Linked DNA regions of Homo sapiens: regions 1, 2 and 3 are each linked to region 4. Evidence: promoter capture Hi-C in 16 types of primary human blood cells and fetal thymus (Javierre and others, 2016). All regions are on one chromosome and are shown on one strand. The core of a region is centred on a gene start or on the middle of the fragment in contact, and the rest is flanking DNA. Distances in the headings are between cores, read along the strand shown.

Region 1 (2,700 bases), core at 104-2,603, 320 kb before region 4:
GCTAGTTTGTTTACCTACTCAAGCCTCAGCAATGGCAGATGCCCCTCCCCCAGCCAGGCTGCCACCTCACTGTTTGATCTCAGTCTGCTGTGCTAGCAGTGAGCAAGGCTCCATGGGCATGAGACCCACTGAGCCAGGCACAGGAGAGAATCTCCTTGTCTGCCAGTTGCTAAGACCTTGGGAAAAGTGCAGTATTTGGGCGGGAGTGTCCTGTTTTTCCAGGTACATTCTGTCCTGGCTTCCCTTGGCTAGGGAAAGGAAATCCCCCAATCTCTCGTGCTTCCCGGGTGAGGCAATGCCCCACCCTGCTTTGGCTCGCCCTCCGTGGGCTGCACCCACTGTCCAACCAGTCCCAATTAGATGAACCAGGTACCTCAGTTGGAAATGCAGAAATCACCCATCTTCTGCATCGATCATGCTGGGAGCTGCAGACCGGAGCTCTTCTTATTCAGCCACCTTGGAAAACAAGTCTTAGTCAGATGGTTTTAATGTCTAATTTTTTTAATCTATTCTAAATAAGAATTCACTTAACATATGCATTAGTCTATTCTTACATTGCTATAAAGAAATCCCCGAGGCTGGGTGATTTACAATGAAAAGAGATTTAATTGTCTCATGGTTTGGCAGGCTTTAAGGAAGCATAGTGCTGGCATCTGCTTCTGGTGAGGCCTCAGAAAGGTTACAATCATGTTGGAAGGCAATCGGGATCCAGCATGTCACATGGAGAGAACAAGAGCAAGAAAGAGAGGGAGGAAATGCCATGCCCTTTTAAAAATAACCAGATCTCAGGTGAACTAACAGAGTGAGAACCCACTCATCATGAAGGTGATGCCATTCATCAAAGATCTGCCCCCATGATCCAATATCTCCCACTTGGCCCCACCTCCAAGATTGAGGATTACATTTCAACATGAGATTAGGAGGAGTCAAACACCCAAACCATATCATTCCCCTTCTGGCCCCTCAAATCTCATGTCCTTCTCACATTATAAAATACATTCATCCTTTCTAACAGTCCCCCAAAGCCTTACCTCATTCCAGCATCAATTCAATCAAAAGTCCAAAGTCACATCTGAGTCTCAAGTTGAGTTCTTTTTACCTACAAACCTGTGAAGTCAAAACAAGTTATTTACACCCAAGATACAATGGTGGTAGAGGCATTGAGTAGACACTCTATTCCAAAAGGGAGAAATCAGCCAAAAGAAAGAGGCAATTGGCCCCATGCAAGTCTGAAACCCAGCAGGGTAGGCATTAAACTTTAAATTCCAAAATAATTTCCCTTGCCTCCATGTCCTGTATCCTGGGCATACTGGTGCAAGATGTGGGTTCCCAAAGCCTTGGGCAGCTTTGCCCTTATGGCTTTACAGAATGCAATTTGTGGCTGCTCTAATGGGCTGGAGTTAAGTTCCTGTGGCTTTTTCATGCTGAGCTTGCAAGCTGCTGTGGCTTTACCATTCTCAGGTCTGGAGGTTCGTGGCCCTCTTCCTACAGCTCCACTAGGCAGTGTCCTGCTGGGGACTCTGTAGGGTCTCAAACCCCACATTTCCTCTCAGTACTGCCCTAGTAGCATTTCTCTGTAGGGACTCTGTCCCTACTGCAGGCTTCTGCCTGGGCATCTAGGCTTTTCCATATATCCTCTGGAATCTAGGTGGGAGTTGCCAAGCCTCCTTTACTCTTGCATTTTGTACACCTGCAGCCTTAACACCATGTGGAAGCTGCCAAGGCTTACAGTGGTTTGCACTTTCCAAAGTGGCAGCTTGAGCTGTACCTATGGCCCTGTGAGCCATGGGTGGAGCTGGAGTGGCCAGGATGCAGAGAGTGGGGTCCTAAGACTGAGCAGGGAAGCAATGCCCTGTGCCTGGCCCCTGAAATAATTCTTTCCTCCTAGGCCTCTGACCTGTAATGAGAGGGGCTGCCTCAAAGATTTCTGAAATGTCTTTAAGTCCTTCTTCCCATTGTCATGGATATTAGCACCTGGCTCCCTTTTAGTTATGCCAGTCTCTTTAGCAAGTGGTTGGTCCACAGCCTGCTTGGATTCTTTCTCTACCACAGAGCCAGGCAGAAAATTTTCCAAACTTTTATGCTCTGCTTCCCTTTTATATATAAGTTCCAACTTATTTAAGTCATTTCTTTGCTCCTTCATCTGATATAGGCTCTTAGAAGCAGCCATGCTACATCTTTTTTTTTTTTTTTTTTTTAGACAGAGTTTTGCTCTGTTGCCCAGGCTAGAGTGCAGTGGTGCTATCTTGGCTCACTGCAAGCTCTGCCTCCCAGGTTCATGCCATTCTCCTGCCTCAGCCTCCCGAGTAGCTGGGACTACAGGCGCCCGCCACCACGCCTGGCTAATTTTTTGTAGTTTTAGTAGAGACGGGGTTTCACCGTGTTAGCCAGGATGGTCTCGATCTCCTGACCTCGTGATCCACCCGCCTTGGCCTCCCAAAGTGCTGGGATTACAGGCGTGAGCCACCGCGCCTGGCCCATGCTACATCTTGAATAATTTGCTGCTTAGAAATTTCTTCTGCCAGATACCCTACATCATCATTCTTAAGTTCAAACTTCTGCAATTTCCTAGAGCATGGACACAATACAGCCAAGTTTTTTTGCTAGGGTGTAACAAGGGTGGCCTTTGCTCCAGTTCCCAATAACTTCCTCATTTCCATCTAAGACCTTGTCAGCTTTGCTCTCACTTTCCATATTTCT
Region 2 (2,700 bases), core at 55-2,554, 300 kb before region 4:
GAGACCTAAAATCCTTAAAGGGACTTAGTCTAATCTCGGGAGGTAGTTTTGTGCATGGGTAAACAAATTAAGTATTAACTGGTGTTTTACTATCCAAAGAATGCTAATTTTATAAACATGATCGAGTTATATAAGGTATACCATAATGAGTTTGATTTTGAATTTGATTTGTGGAAATAAAGGAAAAGTGATTCTAGCTGGGGCATATTGTTAAAGCATTTTTTTCAGAGTTGGCCAGGCAGTCTCCTACTGGCACATTCTCCCATTATGTAGAATAGAAATAGTACCTGTGTTTGGGAAAGATTTTAAAATGAGTGACAGTTATTTGGAACAAAGAGCTAATAATCAATCCACTGCAAATTAAAGAAACATGCAGATGAAAGTTTTGACACATTAAAATACTTCTACAGTGACAAAGAAAAATCAAGAACAAAGCTTTTTGATATGTGCAACAAATTTAGAGGAAGTAAAAAGATAAATGTGATGATTGGTCAAGAAATTATCCAGTTATTTACAAGGCCACTGATATTTTAAACGTCCAAAAGTTTGTTTAAATGGGCTGTTACCGCTGAGAATGATGAGGATGAGAATGATGGTTGAAGGTTACATTTTAGGAAATGAAGAAACTTAGAAAATTAATATAAAGACAGTGATGAATACAAAGAAGATTTTTATAACAATGTGTAAAATTTTTGGCCAGGGAAAGGAATATTGAAGTTAGATACAATTACTTACCTTTGAGGGAAATAATTGTTGGTAATGAGATGTGATGTTTCTCCTGCCACCTGGAAACAAAGCATTGAAGTCTGCAGTTGAAAAGCCCAACGTCTGTGAGATCCAGGAAACCATGCTTGCAAACCACTGGTAAAAAAAAAAAAAAAAAAAAAAAAAAGCCACAGTGACTTGCTTATTGGTCATTGCTAGTATTATCGACTCAGAACCTCTTTACTAATGGCTAGTAAATCATAATTGAGAAATTCTGAATTTTGACAAGGTCTCTGCTGTTGAAATGGTAAATTTATTATTTTTTTTGTCATGATAAATTCTGGTTCAAGGTATGCTATCCATGAAATAATTTCTGACCAAAACTAAATTGATGCAATTTGATTATCCATCTTAGCCTACAGATGGCATCTGGTAACTTTTGACTGTTTTAAAAAATAAATCCACTATCAGAGTAGATTTGATGTTGGCTTCAGAAACATTTAGAAAAACAAAAGTTCAAAAATGTTTTCAGGAGGTGATAAGTTGAATAACTCTACAATGTTAGTTCTTTGAGGGGGACAAAAAATTTAAAATCTTTGAAAGGTCTTATTTTACAGCCATATCTAAATTATCTTAAGAAAATTTTTAACAAAGGGAATGAAATATATATCATGATTCTGTTTTTCCAAAAGTAACCTGAATATAGCAATGAAGTTCAGTTTTGTTATTGGTAGTTTGGGCAGAGTCTCTTTTTGCAGCACCTGTTGTCTACCATAATTACAGAGGACATTTCCATGTTCTAGCCAAGTATACTATTAGAATAAAAAAACTTAACATTGAGTTGCTTCAACAGCATGAAACTGAGTCCAAAAGACCAAATGAACAAACACATTAATCTCTGATTATTTATTTTAAATAGAATATTTAATTGTGTAAGATCTAATAGTATCATTATACTTAAGCAATCATATTCCTGATGATCTATGGGAAATAACTATTATTTAATTAATATTGAAACCAGGTTTTAAGATGTGTTAGCCAGTCCTGTTACTAGTAAATCTCTTTATTTGGAGAGAAATTTTAGATTGTTTTGTTCTCCTTATTAGAAGGATTGTAGAAAGAAAAAAATGACTAATTGGAGAAAAATTGGGGATATATCATATTTCACTGAATTCAAAATGTCTTCAGTTGTAAATCTTACCATTATTTTACGTACCTCTAAGAAATAAAAGTGCTTCTAATTAAAATATGATGTCATTAATTATGAAATACTTCTTGATAACAGAAGTTTTAAAATAGCCATCTTAGAATCAGTGAAATATGGTAATGTATTATTTTCCTCCTTTGAGTTAGGTCTTGTGCTTTTTTTTCCTGGCCACTAAATTTCACAATTTCCAAAAAGCAAAATAAACATATTCTGAATATTTTTGCTGTGAAACACTTGACAGCAGAGCTTTCCACCATGAAAAGAAGCTTCATGAGTCACACATTACATCTTTGGGTTGATTGAATGCCACTGAAACATTCTAGTAGCCTGGAGAAGTTGACCTACCTGTGGAGATGCCTGCCATTAAATGGCATCCTGATGGCTTAATACACATCACTCTTCTGTGAAGGGTTTTAATTTTCAACACAGCTTACTCTGTAGCATCATGTTTACATTGTATGTATAAAGATTATACAAAGGTGCAATTGTGTATTTCTTCCTTAAAATGTATCAGTATAGGATTTAGAATCTCCATGTTGAAACTCTAAATGCATAGAAATAAAAATAATAAAAAATTTTTCATTTTGGCTTTTCAGCCTAGTATTAAAACTGATAAAAGCAAAGCCATGCACAAAACTACCTCCCTAGAGAAAGGCTAGTCCCTTTTCTTCCCCATTCATTTCATTATGAACATAGTAGAAAACAGCATATTCTTATCAAATTTGATGAAAAGCGCCAACACGTTTGAACTGAAATACGACTTGTCATGTGAACTGTACCGAATGTCT
Region 3 (2,700 bases), core at 42-2,541, 340 kb before region 4:
TCCCCTAAGCTTTCCATTTCAGACACTGTTTTTTTCCAAAACAGGTCTCAGTGTGTTGGTGTTTCCAAAGTGCAGATGATTCCTGTTCTTATTTTGTGGCTGTTCTTGCAGAATGCTATCAGCCCCAGATCTAGGGTAGAGGACAGGCTTGATTGGAGCCTTTGCCTGTTACAATGCATGATTCCACCACAGGCCAGCTGTGACCATTCCGCCCAGTGACAGCGTGGTTGTCTTTCCTCATAGGTGAAGGAGGTGACTTCTTATGGGACATGATTTCTGAAGCAGAAGTTTACCTGAGGTTCCTGGAAGAAATGTTTTCCCCACCTGTTGGCTCCCTGAGTATTAACATGCCAGATGCAAAGCTTCATTCATTCTATTAAAATGCAAATGAGCCCAACAGTGTAGTAAAACAGTTTGCTGCTAGAAGTTATTTACAATATTCTAAGAGTAACGCTCTTATTCACCCTAAGCACAGGTTTTAATAAAAAGTGGAAGGGATCGCAAGGGTATTGAGATCTCAGCAAGAGAAGGAAAGGGAAAAGGTTGTTTAAAAACAACATTAATAGAAGACATACCGTATAGAGAGAAAAACGCAGACTGTGCATGTTCAAGATAACTTTCATTACAATTTTGCCTAAGCCAGGGTGAATGCAAATGTTTCAGTTTTAACAGACTGGATCATTCATTCAAAAAGCATTTATTGAGTGCCTTCTCAAAAAAGAATGATAATTAGATTTTTTAAGTTATAAAGAAAATATAAAACCAAAACTGGAGAAATATACGCCAACATTTTTCCAATGGTTCCGTTGTCAAAGTAGAATTAGAATGTAAGTGCAGAGTTAAATTCCATTGTCTATCAAGAAGTAATTGTAAAGGAGCTATGTCTAAAAATGTATCTTTTCAGTGATTTTTGTTCTGAACAATCTTCTGCCTCAAATACATTTTGGATCTATGATTTGCAACCACTTTTTTTTGGTGGGTCAAGATACCAGCACTGTAACTTTAAGAAGTTCATCATTAGCATGCATTTAAAAAAATGTACCAAGTTAAGAAAAAAATTGAATAAATGTACATCTGTCTAAAGCAGGGGTTAGCAGAGTACAGCCTGCAGGTCAAATCCAGTCTACTGCCTGTTTTGTTTTTGTTTTTGTTTTTGTTTTTGACTAGAATGTTAAGATACATTTTTAAATGGCTGCAAAAAAAAAAAATCAAAAGGATAACATTTCATGACATGTTAAAAATTGTCTTCAATTCAAATTTCAGGGGCTGGGTGTGGTGGCTCACACCTGTAATCCCAGTACTTTGGGAGGCCGAGGTGTGTGGATCACCTGAGGTCAGAAGTTCAAGACCAGCCTGGCCAACATGGCAAAATCCCGTCTCCACTAAAAATACAGAAAATTAGCAAGGCCGTGTGCAGTGGCTCACGCCTATAATCCCAGCACTTTGGGAGGCCAAGGAGGGTGGATCATGAGGTCAGGAGTTCGAGACTAGCCTGGCCAACATAGTGAAACTACATCTCTGATACAAACACAAAAATTAGCTGGGCATGATGGCTCACGCCTGTAGTCCCAGCTACTCAGGAGGCTGAGGCAGGAGAATTGCTTGAACCTGGGAGGTGGAAGTTGTGGTTAGCCGAGATCGCACCACTGCACTCCAGACTGGACAACAGAGCAAGACTCCATCTCAAAAACAAAACAAAACAAAAACAATAAAAACAAATCAACAAATCCTGAAACCCTTCTTCCTAGCATTCCCTATCTACATTTTCTGCATTATTTAGCTTTATAGTATTTATCATTAACACAGCCTACATTTTACATATTTTTAAAAAATTGTATATCATTCCTTATTAGAATATTAATTAAATCCCAGGGATTTTTGTCTTTGTTTACTGTTGTATGCTGGAACCTAGAAGAGCATATGACTCCTATATATTGTAGTCGGTACTTGTTTGTTGTGTGTGTTAGTGGCTGAGCCAGGGCTTGTTGCAGACCTGCTTCCATGGTCAGGGAAGCTGGCAAGGTAATGGAATGAATGTGAGACTTTAACATCATATGTGTTTGGGTTCAGATTCTAATCCCAGCCTTTAGTAACTGTTGCAATTTGGAGTAGATTTCACCCAGATATCGGTGATATAAACAAGGAAAATGTTTATTCTTATTATTCTTTTGTGATAAAGAGGTCCAGCATTGATAGAGCAACTCCACAGTCATCAGGGACCCAAGCTTGTTCCACACCCCTTAGTATATGGTTTCCAATGGCCAGGCATGGTGGCTCACGCCTGTAATCCCAGCAGTGGGAGGCTGAGGCTAGAGGATTGCTTGAGCCTGGGAGTTCAGGACCAGCCTGGACAACATAGCAAGACCCCATCTCTACAAAATTAAAAAGAAAATTAGGCCGGGCACATTGGCTCACACCTGTAATCCCAGCACTTTGGGAGGCTGAGGCAGGTGGATCACCTGAGGTCAGGAGTTCGAGACCAGCCTGGCCAACATGGTGAAAACCTGTCTCTACTGAAAATATGAAAAATTAGCTGGGCTTGGTGACGGGCACCTGTAATCCCAGCTACTTGGGAGGCTGAGGCAGAATAACCGTTTGAACCTGGGAGGCGGAGGTTGCAGTGAGCCGAGATCGCGCCATTGCTCAAGAGTGAAACTCCGTCTCAAAAAAAAAAAAAAGAAAAAAAGTAGCCAGTAGTGA
Region 4 (2,752 bases), core at 168-2,667:
AAATACAATTGAATAAGGATCCCAGTATCCTGAGTTATTTTGAATTTAGTTCATCTAAAAGTGGGCTAAAGTCAAAAGAAGTTCAGTTCAACATGGTTGTGCTGGGCATCAGCTGTGCTGTTCATCTGCGGGGCTGATATTTAAGTGTTTAATGACTGGTATGGCCGGGGAACTGACCAGTTAATAAGGATGAGTGGCAGAAACAATCGGTAGGGACATGCCATTGCACATGGGTGCAAATCAGCTCTACGATGCAGACAGCCAAGCGGTACACAGGTGCAGCCTGGCAGTCAGGAAAGCAGCCCTGAGGCGGAGCTGGTGATCACAGATGTGCTGTAATGTTGGCAGACTCTTGAAAGGGAGGCCTGTGTGCAAAAGCATTTCCTCTATATATCTTTCACTAATGTTGGAAATTCCATCCGTAGACATCCATTTCTTTAGGTTAAGGATGCCACCCTTCTTTTAAAAACAAAACACGCTTGGAAGCATATATATATATATATATATATATATATATATATATATATATATATGTAGAAATCATTTTGAGTCAAGCAGTCTTTGTGAAATATTTGAATATGGATCATTTCTATCAGACCCTTTCCAGCAGTCATAGAGGAGAGATCTCAAAAGAGGAAAATACACAAAGTTTAAGTACATAAACGTTGTACTTTGTACTTACTACATAAACTTTGTTATGTACTTTGTACATAAACTTTTACTTCATTGGGGAATATGCTTTAGGGAGAAAAGGCCTTCAAATGAGAAGTGGGTTGGCACCCAGGAAGAACTTAGTCCACTTTAAATTTTGATCAGGGTTACCTTGAATATAAGAGCCATTTAAAAAGTGGAAACACAGGAAATCTCCTTGTTGTGACCGCTAAAGCTTAGCACTAAATTCACAACCTGCCTCTAGCGTGTGGATTATGCCTCGGTTTTTATTTTTCTGCTTCTATTTTTCCTCCTACATCATTCCCGGGAAGTACTTGTTTGCTCCTTTTATATTGCATGGTTTTCACAAGCCACCTGGAATTCTTTATGAAGCAAGATAGCTAGGTAGATATATCCTCATGTATTTATTCAGTCATGTAACATGGTACACCTAATATGCACCAGACACCAATCTAGGTGGACAGAAGATAGCATCAGTTAGACTTCAATGGACTTATATAAAATGATTTTAAAAGAACAATAGAATTTTTTTCTTATTTTCTCACTATGCCCTTTTAGGTTTTCTAGGGCAGAGGAGCAAGAAGGAATTGGGCAAAAATTCACAAACCTGTGCGAGGCGGTAGTTGTTCCTCCAGGTCCTGGGGGAGGCTGCAACTAGGGAGGGGGCTGCAGTGGAAAACTTCAAAGCCATGATGAGGAAGACAGCAAGGCCAGATGCAGGGAGCACCTTCATCCCCTCACAGTAGCTTGGTAATTATATCAGCCTGGGGGATGGCAGACAGTGCACGTTTGCACTTCGACCTTGAGCTCCTTTTATAGAGTCAAACAGGTCTGGACCCTCCGAGCAAGGATGATTCATGTCTCAAACAGTAATTATACAGCTCATTTCTCTCCCTGATGATGGGGTAACACAACTGTACACAGGAATCAGGGAAAGCTTCATATTTTTTTTGTTATTTACCAAGTGGCAAAAGGAGAAAAACAGTCACTTTTAATGAAGTTGGTCAGCTAGTTACAAAAATTGAAGTAAACTTGATTGATTTGAACCCAACTCAACTGAAACATTTGATTAGTCTTCATTTGGGGGCCTTTTTCCATTCTGATTACAGAAAAGTTAGATGATTACAGTATAATTGAATTTGTCCTCCAAGTAATCCCAAACTCCCCATGCATTCAACCCAATCGCCTGTATCTCCTGCATTCACTTCAAAATTTCTTAGTAGCAACTGCTGTTCATAATGATGGCTCTGAGACACATAAGATCCTGAATCATCAAGGCAAGATTACATTATACTGTGCTGACTTAGGGTGGAAAGTGAACTGGTAACTGTTAGAAAGCTTTTGGATGAATTAAGGCAAGAGTTACGTCTTCGTTAACCAAAACAATAGCCAGAACTCCCCAATCTCTGTGTACTCTGGTTAATTGGAGTCATATTGTTTTTCCTGGGTCTGATTAAGATGGATTTGGATCCAGAGATGATACGGTGAAATGGTGTCATATGGTGGGAAAAGCACTTAGAGTCAGACAAAGCAAGACTAAATATTTAAAAAGATATTTCCTAGCTGTGTGATGTTGGGTATGTCATTTAATCTCTGAATATCAAGTTTTTTTTAATCTACAAAAGACTGACAATACTACTACTATGTATAAACTTTTCAGTGTTATGGAGTAACACATATAGCATGACATCTGCAAGCACCACTTGGCATCCACTAGATGTGGATTCAAATCCTAATTTTGATTTTAGACTAAATTCAAGGTTATTCCTATAGTGAATACAGTGAATTCCTATAGTCTTTCTCACTCTGTTGCATTTTGATATGCTTTCTTTGCATGGAAGAGAAGATGGTGGAGTTACAGCCAATGTTTGGTATCTAGTGTACAACCCCAGGCACTGAACAAGAGTTTGTCACACATTAATATGGTTTGGCTCTGTGTCCCTAACCAAATCTCATCTCGAATTGTAATCCCCATGTGTTGAGGGAGGGAGGGGATTGGATCATGGGGGTGGTTCCGTCATGCTGTTCTCATGACAATGAGTGAGTTCTCACAAGATATGATGGTTTTATAGGTGTTTGA

Evidence for each region. Contacts are between HindIII fragments. The CHiCAGO score rates a contact against its expected background, and 5 or more counts as called.
Region 1: a fragment that was not itself captured here is called in contact with the fragment with the promoter of MMP20 in region 4 in 4 of 17 cell types (M0 macrophages, megakaryocytes, M2 macrophages and 1 more); the score reaches 9.1 in M0 macrophages.
Region 2: a fragment that was not itself captured here is called in contact with the fragment with the promoter of MMP20 in region 4 in 12 of 17 cell types (M1 macrophages, M0 macrophages, M2 macrophages and 9 more); the score reaches 15.6 in M1 macrophages.
Region 3: a contact is called between a fragment that was not itself captured here and the fragment with the promoter of MMP20 in region 4, in 16 of 17 cell types (naive CD8 T cells, naive B cells, non-activated CD4 T cells and 13 more). The highest score is 21.9, in naive CD8 T cells.

What each region holds. Positions count from the first base shown.
Region 1 is chr11:102,301,034-102,303,733 of GRCh38, forward strand. No RefSeq gene overlaps it. Among named protein-coding and RNA genes, the nearest start is that of BIRC3, 15 kb to the right of the region's middle. The HindIII fragment of the contact is 3,302 bases long and covers 1-2,700 here.
Region 2 is chr11:102,321,912-102,324,611 of GRCh38, forward strand. BIRC3 (baculoviral IAP repeat containing 3) reads left to right here. Exons shown (of 9, transcript NM_001165.5): 2 at 1-2,700. The coding sequence starts at 2,599. Among named protein-coding and RNA genes, the nearest start is that of BIRC3, 5.8 kb to the left of the region's middle. The HindIII fragment of the contact is 1,743 bases long and covers 434-2,176 here.
Region 3 is chr11:102,280,285-102,282,984 of GRCh38, forward strand. It overlaps LOC105369460 (a long non-coding RNA gene), which reads left to right. Exons shown (of 5, transcript XR_007062863.1): 5 at 1-955. Among named protein-coding and RNA genes, the nearest start is that of BIRC3, 36 kb to the right of the region's middle. The HindIII fragment of the contact is 1,863 bases long and covers 361-2,223 here.
Region 4 is chr11:102,623,915-102,626,666 of GRCh38, forward strand. MMP20 (matrix metallopeptidase 20) reads right to left here and starts at 1,418. Exons shown (of 10, transcript NM_004771.4): 1 at 1,280-1,418. The coding sequence starts at 1,405. The HindIII fragment of the contact is 723 bases long and covers 885-1,607 here.